3 separate regions of the Homo sapiens genome follow, and all the other regions are linked to region 1. Evidence: promoter capture Hi-C in human tissues and cell types (Jung and others, 2019). All regions are on one chromosome and are shown on one strand. The core of a region is centred on a gene start or on the middle of the fragment in contact, and the rest is flanking DNA. Distances in the headings are between cores, read along the strand shown.

Region 1 (2,980 bases), core at 192-2,691:
ATAATTTTAAGAAATTTTTTGAAGCTTCAATCAAATAAAAATAAAGAACATCACAATCATGAATAAAATCTAAAACTCCACTTTGATGTCTGTAGCAGTGTGCAATCTGCATTCAAATGAATCAATCCGAAATGTCATATACACTTAATATTGTGAAACTAAAATAAATGAAATCTAATGAGGTCAAAAGCTGTTGGAAGATTTCATCTTCAAATAGCATATCATCAACTGTATGGCAACATGTGAACGACTTTTACTGTTCTAGCAAGTTGCATATATTCCACAACCTCACAGAAATCTTGTCATCAAAAGTAGGTAACAAGCTAAAAAAAACCTCAAATACATAATGGGAATAAACCGAGTTGGAGATTTTTTTTTAATCCGTAGGTACAGATACTACAACCTTCAATTAATTCACCAAAATCCTAACATAGTTGTTACTTTAATTACCAAAATATGTCAAGTCCCACCCCATATCCCTGAGTCCCCAGAGAACAGTTTATATACATAGACTCTAAATCTTTTTATTTTGGTCACGGACCCCCATTAAATTTTTGAGCATTTGAAATGCCCCCGAAAATCGCTCGTACATCATATTTTACATACACGGGCAGATAATTCATTAAGTTTCTTGGGGAGAGAGAAAGGTGAGGGGGAAGCGTCCATGGTCACTAAGTCCAGACCCCTGGTGTCGAGAAAGCGTTAACGTATCTCACAGCACAAGTCGGGAGACCTCGGCCAAGTCCCGCGGCGGCCCTGGGACCCCGCGTGGGACCATGGCTTGCGACCAGGTCGCCGCCCAGACGTGTACCGACGCGTGCACCCGCCGTCGGCCGCTCGCCCCACCTCGCCGGTAAACAGCAACTCCCCCGGCAGGAGGACGCCCGCCCCGCGCGCCGCCTCCGCCTCCCCCAGCGCCGCGCACCATTTTCTGAGAGGAAGTGTCGGGAGGCCGAGCTGGGCTCCCCGGACTCGGGGCGCGGAGGGCGGACCTCGGCACCGCGGCCGGACCGGGCTTTCCTCTGCTCCCGGGTGTGTCGAGTAAGGCTAGGAAGCAGCGGACGTGTCCGGGGCGCCGCGTGGGGAAAGGAGAGCCTGCGGCGGACGGCAACTCCGCGATTCCGGGATCCCCACCGAGACGCCCGGAAGCCCCGCCGTCGGGCTTGGCCGGGGCCGCTCCTCCGGCCGCCGGCGCCGCGCACTGCTCCCCAGCCCTTACGCGTCCCGCGGAGAGCCGGGTGGAAGCGGCGCCAAGGCAACCCGGTGCGGCCGCCGCGCCGCCTAGTACTTACCCATCCATGGCCCAGATGGAGGCGCGCACAGAGCAGGGACTGACGGGCTAACCGCGAGCAGAGGAAGCAGGCGGCGGCAGCAGGGCGGTTCCGGGGACAAGCGAGCTTTGGCTCTGCGGAGCCCCGGCCGGTCCGAGGTGGAAGGAGAGTGGGAACAGGGGCGGGGACCGGGCACGCTCCCGCCACCGCCGCGCCCCCGCCTTCCCCACCCCGCGAGCGCGTCCCCGCCTAGCCCGACCCCGCCCCCTCACCGTCCCCGCCCTCCCTCGGGGCCCGCCCCTGCGCTCGCGCCCACCCTCGCCCCGCTGGCAGCCGGCCTCCGGCTCAGCTCTGGGGCGCCCTCTTCCCGCGGTCGCTGTAAGACCCCGCCTCTCGGCCCCTCGGCCCGGCGCGCGCGCGCGCCCCCAGCCTCCCTCCTGCGTTCGCGGGAGCGCGCGCCTTGTGCTTCCCGCTCCGCCGCGCACCCCGCCCGCCCTCCCGCGGCCCCGCGGGCCTTCCGGCTTCGCAGACCGGGCCTGCCAGGTTTGAATGCCTCCCTCTGCCGGCAGGAAAAGCTATGGGGACCTGACTCCCAAGAGTAGGAAGGAATGTCCCACAAGGACCCCAGAAACGAGGTGGAATTGCCCCGGGTGCGCGAGGCTGTAGATGACACGTCCAGGGACCAGCCTCTGGCAGCCCGGCGCTGGAGTCGACCGCTGGGACCGACACCAGCCCCATAGGTGTGGCTGGGACGATGAATGAGGTGAAAGAGGCTGCCCGGACTGGAATTTGTATACAATTTAAGTATCTGAGTGCATTTCGACCTAACCGTCTAGTATTGAATTTATATGAAAAATTCATTGTACAAACATGGAATGGCTATATTCCCAGCATTTTTTAAAAGTTTACTCATTATTCCCTTTTTTCAGATGAAAATACATATACAAAGAGAGTGATTTGCTCACAGTTTCACAACCAGGAAACGTTTGCACCAGAGCCCTTCCCTCTGGTCTGAGCAAAAAGTATATATATAATATAACGAGTGACAACACGCTTGCTTTTTTCCCTTTTTAGTGAGAAATTGAGTACTTTTTCAACTCACAGATCACCAAAATGTAACCCCCTAAACTGTTAAGCCAAATTCTTAACCTACTGAGTAAAAAAGAGCGGGGCTCCTCCCCGTGGCTTCGTCATTTGAAAAGCAACTAACAAGAACCTCAAACATCTATCCTTGCTAATTTCCTGCTTTCAGATCAGTAGGTGCTGCTAAAAAGATCTAAACTGTGGACTCATTCATCATTCAGTCAGTATTAACCTACTATGTGCCGGGCACTGCATGAATACACAAGAAAATCAGGTTCCAGCCGTCACTGTTGAATGGATTCTTCAGTCCGTTTATGTATATTTTTGACATACAACTTTTCAAATAGGTAGAGTAATTCGGTGAGGTAATTCTTAAAGTCCTGTATCTAACCTCAGTCCCCTTCCAAAATGTCAAATACATTTTGTTTTGTATATTAAATCTAAATATTAAGTTGCATTTGTAAACATTGCCAGATGGAAATGTAGAATATCAACAAGATAAGTAGCTGATGCAGTCTTTCTATCACTGTATTTGGGATATATTCTGTTGATGAAATTTCCTTAACCCTTTTTTTAGCTACACAAGTAATATCAGCATAAATGCTCATTTTGGAAAATTCAAGCAC
Region 2 (2,980 bases), core at 248-2,747, 290 kb before region 1:
ACTCCAGGGAGATCCCCGATTATAAACTAAAAAACACTCACAGTTGAGTTGCACATGTGGGCCAAGTGACTGACTTAGAGAATCATGTTCTAGATTAGAGCAAAAATTTCATTTTAATTTGCAAACACTTACTTAGCACTTACTATGTGCCAGACACTGTTCCAAGCACCTCACAAATATTCACTCATTTAGGCTTCTAACCAGCCTTCACATTGGGTACTATTATTATTCCCTTAAGGAACCAAGGTGGGAGTGGCTAAGTACAACTCAGGTCTTTACAGCCAGGTTAAGAGGAGTGCATTTCTATTGGAAACTCAGTACAGTACCTGGCACTAGTAAAACCAGCCATAGAATACACCTTGTGTTAAACAGCCCTGCAGAACTTGAAACCGCCTTTTTAAAAATTATAACCGAGAAAATTATAACCGTGAAAAAGATCTGACCTGACTGACTCCATCTTGCTTCTAACCTCCAAGTTGCCCCTGTTCATTCCTGGGCGTAGGCTGAACTAACTTTGGGAGGAACTCAGTTTATAGTTTAACTTTGAAACAAAGACGATAATAGCCCTTTCCCCAAACAAATCCCCATCCTGTCTGGGGACTAGACTGCCTTTGCAAGACTAACAAATTAGCCATGAGATTAGAAATTATGGTTTAGGGGTCCTACAGCTGGAAGCTGCAAGATTCTGAACTGCTCAAATTGCTCCTAGGGCTAACATCACTATTGTAAAACCTAAGATCAGTGCTTGAGATATTTTCCAGACCCTGCACTCCATGGATCGGCTGGCATCACCCAGATCCATAAACTGGTTCATCTGATCTTGTGGCCCCCAACCAGAAATTGACTCAGTGCAAGAGGACAGCTTCGACTCTGTGATTTCATCTCCAACCCAACCAATCAGCACTTCTGACTCACTGACCCCCCCATCCCCTACCCCCTACCCACTAAGTAATCCTTAAAAACCCCATCCCTGAATTTTCAGGGAGACTGATTTGAGTAATAATAAAACTCCAGTCTCCCATACAGTTGGCTCTGTGTGAATTAAGCTCTTTATTGCAATTCCTCTGTCTTGATAAATCAGCTCTGTCTAGGCAGCAGGCAAGGAAAACTCATTGGGCGGTTACTAATTCTCAAAAAATGCTGCCAAGAGCCTTTCTAGAAAACATGGCTTATATTATTTGGTTGCTTTTAGTCTATAGAAGAAAAATGGCCTTGACACTTTAAGAAGCTAGATTACTTATTTTGTTTTATTTTATTTTTATTTATTATTATTTTTTGAGACAGAGTCTTGCTCTGTCACCCAGGCTGGAGTGCAGTGGCATGATCTCGGCTCACTGCAACCTCCACCTCCCGGATTCAAGCGATTCTCCTGCCCCAGTCTCCCTAGTAGCTGGGACTACAGGTGTACTCCACCACGCCCGGCTAGTTTTTGTATTTTAGTAGAGACAGGGCTTCACCATGTTGGCCAGGCTGGTCTCGAACTCTTGACCTCAGGCGATCTGCCCATCTTGGCCTCCCAAAGTGCTAGAATTATAGGCATGAGCCACCATGCCCAGCCAAGAAACTAGATTATAAAATGGAAGGAGAAACAGTGATTAAGTGAAGAATTAGTAAAGAAAAAATATTAGGAGAGTGACTTGAATTGCAAGACAGTAAAACAGTGCAGTATTAGAATAGGAATGAATACATTGGAACAAAATAGCCTAGAAACAAATCCAAGCATATCAAATACTTTCAAAGTTTGAATACTGGAGTCAGATGTCCAAGTCTTTATCTGAACACCACCACTGCCTGTGTGACTTTGTGCAAGTTATTCATCCATTCTGTGTCTCAGTCCCCACACTGAGGGATGCTGTAATAACATGGGAATGATAGCAATACTACCCACCTCTAGGTAGTGGGAGAAGTCAGTGAGTTAGTACAGGTTGAAACAGTGCCTGGCACAGAATAAGCAATAAGCAAATGTTAGCTATTGTTAATTATTATTGTTTTTGTTGTTTTGATACTGTTTCAGATCATTGGGGAAATGATAAATTTTTCATAACCAGTGCTGAGAAAATTGGCTAACCATTTAGAATCAAATAATTTTGATCACTAGAGCTTACACCATATATCAAAATAAAATCCAGATGGATTACAGACTTAAATTGAAACCTAAAAGGATTAGGAAATGTTAGTGAATATTTACCTAATATTAAAGGGGGTAAGAAATTTCTAAGCATATTCGTTAACACAGAAACCTTAAGAGAATGAGAGATTTAACCACTTTAAAAAGCATGCACTTCTTATACCAAAAACTACCATAAGCAAGATTAAAAGGCAAATGGCAAGCTGGATAAAATATCTAGAATAATGGGCAAGAAGTTAACATACAGAGAGTGTTACAGATTAATAAAGACATACCTCAATAGCGAAATGAGAAAATTCTACGAAAAGGTAAATCACATGAAAAACATGATTACAGATGATCAATAAAACTTTGAGCAAATGCTCTCTTACAAGTAATAAAAATGCAAATTAAGGCATTAAGATGCCATCTTTGTGCATGACTCAGAAACATTTTTTTAAATGCCATCTTGGTGGACTAATTAACTAGATTTGTTTTGTTTTGTTTTGTTTTTAAGAGAAAATACAATTCTGGAGATGAACGGGGGAGCTGGTACTTTACTGCACTGGCATTTCATCCGATCTACCCAGTATTCCTTCCAACTTCTGACATCAAGTTTTTTTCTGTGTATTTTTTCCTCTACACTTTAACCCTCTGTATATTTTAATCACTGATTGATGAATATGTTGAACTGAAGATGACTGTGGACAGAAATCCATATCATGCATATTCTTGGGTTTGATTTCAACTCATCAATAATTGTTAATGAGTTGATATCAACTGTGCATAGCCATTCAGCTTGTTTCTAAGCCCACATACAGCTCTCATGTCCCCACATTGTCCACAAGGACATTATTGTTATTATGCGTGCCA
Region 3 (2,980 bases), core at 318-2,817, 260 kb before region 1:
TAAAATTACAGCAATTGAAATAGTAAAGTACACGCACAGGACAGACAAACAGTGAAAAAAAGCTAGACAGTCTGGAAAGAGACCCAAAGAAATGCACCAGGTGGCATGGATGGTCAGTAGTTCCAAAGGTGATAGGGAACTGGCTTACAGCTGGGGAGAAAAATTACAATGTAAATTTAGCCTCATATCAGACATCAAAATAAATTCCAAATGAACCTAAGTGGTTTTGTTTTGGTTTTGTTTGTTTGTTTGTTGTAGAAAAGTGGTCTCACTGTGTCGCCCAGGCTGGGGTGCACTGGCATGATCATAGTTCACTGCAGCTTTGAACTCCTGGACTCAAGCAGTCCTCTCTCCTCAGCCTCCTAGAGCGCTGGAATTATAGGAATGTGCCACTGTGCCCAGCCTGAAACTAAATTTTAAGTGCAAAAAAGTAGGTCAGGTGCAGTGGCTCCCACCTATAATCCTGGCTTTTTGGGAGGCCTAGGCAAAAATGATTGCTTGGGCTCAGGAGTTTGAGACCAGCCTGGGCAACATAGTAAGACCTCATCTTTACAAAAAGAAAAAATTAGCAGGGTGTGGTGACATGCACCTGTAGTCTCAGCTACTTGGGAGGCTGAGGCAGGAGGACTGCTTGAGCCCAGGAGTTTGAGGCTGCAGTAAGCTATGATTGTGCCACAGCACTCCAGCCAGGGCAACATAATGAAACTCAGTCTCAAAAAAAATTGAAAAGAAAACAAAAGAGTAAATAGCCTTGGAGTAGGAATTTGTAATATTTATCAAAATATTAATATCACTAATGAAGGTAAACTATTAAATCAACCAAAGAAAAAGGGTAGTATAAGTACAAATGTGTTAAAATGTCTCTATGTAAAACCCATCAAAATGAACAAAAAGAACCAAAAATGGAAGAAAATTTTATCTGCATCAAAACTAAGCAACGTCTCCAACTTTGTACTGCAAACTTCAAGTAAACACAAACAATTGAATTAAAACACAACTCCACCGCCCAAAAACCCAGTACAATGCTACTTTTCTGGATTTTCTATAATAAAAAGTAGGTAGAAAAATAAACACAGCATGATGGTTCTTTTCTAATCCTCAGGCACCTCTCCAGATATATCATCCCATCCAAGGCATGGTAAATTAAAATTGAAGGCAACAGAAAAAATAGTGTCTTCCACTACAAGTCATCAGCTAGATATATCTTCTCCATCAATAAAGTTATGAGACTTCACCTCCCAAGGAGAAGAAACCAATTTCTTTTCACATGTACATCCTCAGTAGGCAGCACAGGTCTTTGTACATAACCAATCGAAAAATATTTGCTAGTGACTTCTCAAGACATCTCCTTTTATTATTTATTTATTTTTATTCTTTTTTATTTCTTTCTTTCTCTTTTTTTTTTTTTTTTGTTTTTTTTTTTGAGACGGAGTCTCACTCTGTTGTCTAGGCTGGACTGCAGTGGCACAATCTCAGCTCACTGCAACTCTGCCTCCCGGGTTCAGGAGATTCTCCTGCCTCAGCCTCCCAGGTAGGTGGGATTACAAGCACCCACACCACACCCAGCTAATTTTTGTATTTTTAGTAGAGACTGGGTTTCACCATGTTGGCCAGGCTGGTCTCGAACTCACCCACCTCAGCTTCCAAAAGTGCTGGGATGGGATTACAGGCATGAGCCACCGTGCCTGGCCAACCCATCTCATTTTTAACAAATACAAGTAAATAAATAAATATTTGCTAAATTAAATTGTTACAGCTCAGCAAGCCCCTCCCCCTCTCCCAACACACACAGAAACCCTAGTTTCCAGGCTTCTGATCTAAGAATACCTTCTCATGCACGTTTTATAAAAGCTAACTTTGGCTGAGATTCAGATGCTGGTAGCAAGAGGGTCTGGGAGACACCCATCCCCACACAGCCATTTACTTGGGGGCTTGGGGTTTGTTTTGAAGCTAGAAAGCAGTTGGGAGATTTCTGGGAATGAGAGAAATACGTGGACTGTGGAAGCATGGAAGGGCAAACATGCCTCTCCTAGCGTGACCTAATGTTAGGGCTCCAGATATCAAAAGAGCCTGTGTCCACGGAAGACTTGGAAAGGAAAACAGCTGGCATGAAGGCCAGTCCCTCTGCTGACCTGTGGTACAGCTTCAGCCCCCTTGGAGCCAGGGGGGCCCCCAGGGATAAGTGTGGTACCTTGGAACCAGCCAGGGGAGATGGGTTTCTCACTGAGGACACAGGGGTACAGCATCCTTGGATGGTTTGTGGGTAACCAACCATGAAAGAGAAGCCTCGGTAAAAGAAACCAAGAGACCTAGTCCTGCACAGTCTTCCCTGAGGACATCCCATTGTGGAGGGCGGTGTCAGAGGCAGGGGCAGGGAGGATCAGGGCAGTCCTGGCTGGACCTCTCTGATAAAGTGACAATCTGATAAATGCCTGGGACACTCCTGTGTTTTCTGTTGTTTTCCTAACCGTCTGAAAAAGTACTTTCCTTTTTCTTGTTATGAATACAATGAGAGATGGGAAATTTCTTGAAGAAGTTGCCAGCCTTGGTACTGAAGACATGGGAATAAATAATTTCCTTTTCATCTTTTCTTCCCTTTGCTCCTCCAGCATGCTTGGTTCCATAATAAACATTCCATCTCAAATGATCACCATGTTGTGTAAGACAAGTGGTCTGGTTTATCTCCACATTTACGTATGTATTGGCTTTCTCACGCTCACTCTCTCTCTCTCTCTTTCTCTCTCTTCCCCACCCCGCCCCCACCCACCCCCATCCTCCTCTCTCTGGTTTCCTCTTTCTCTCTCTATATAAGAAAATGTTGCCTACAAAGCTTTTAGACTTAGCAAGAAAATAGCATACTCAGCTGGACAGTGGCTCATGCCTGTAATCCCAGCACTTTGAGAGGCTAAGGGCAGGCAGATCACTTGAGGTCAGGAGTTTGAGACCAGCCTGGACAACATGGCAAAACCTCATCTCTACT

What was found. Contacts are between HindIII fragments. The study calls those that stand out against the background at their distance.
Region 2: a fragment that was not itself captured here is called in contact with the fragment with the promoter of PTBP3 in region 1 in 1 of the 25 tissues and cell types used here (stomach).
Region 3: a contact is called between a fragment that was not itself captured here and the fragment with the promoter of PTBP3 in region 1, in 1 of the 25 tissues and cell types used here (dorsolateral prefrontal cortex).

The regions. Positions count from the first base shown.
Region 1 is chr9:112,332,178-112,335,157 of GRCh38, forward strand. It overlaps PTBP3 (polypyrimidine tract binding protein 3), which reads right to left and starts at 1,442. Exons shown (of 14, transcript NM_001163788.4): 1 at 1,293-1,442. RefSeq lists silencers at 807-1,296, 1,447-1,766 and an enhancer at 1,516-2,486. The HindIII fragment of the contact is 19,118 bases long and covers 1-2,980 here.
Region 2 is chr9:112,042,542-112,045,521 of GRCh38, forward strand. The region is part of intron 15 of SUSD1 (sushi domain containing 1); the gene reads right to left. Among named protein-coding and RNA genes, the nearest start is that of LINC02977, 3.6 kb to the left of the region's middle. RefSeq lists an enhancer at 21-90. The HindIII fragment of the contact is 6,855 bases long and covers 1-2,980 here.
Region 3 is chr9:112,070,746-112,073,725 of GRCh38, forward strand. The region is part of intron 12 of SUSD1 (sushi domain containing 1); the gene reads right to left. Among named protein-coding and RNA genes, the nearest start is that of LINC02977, 32 kb to the left of the region's middle. RefSeq lists an enhancer at 2,971-2,980. The HindIII fragment of the contact is 3,705 bases long and covers 1-2,980 here.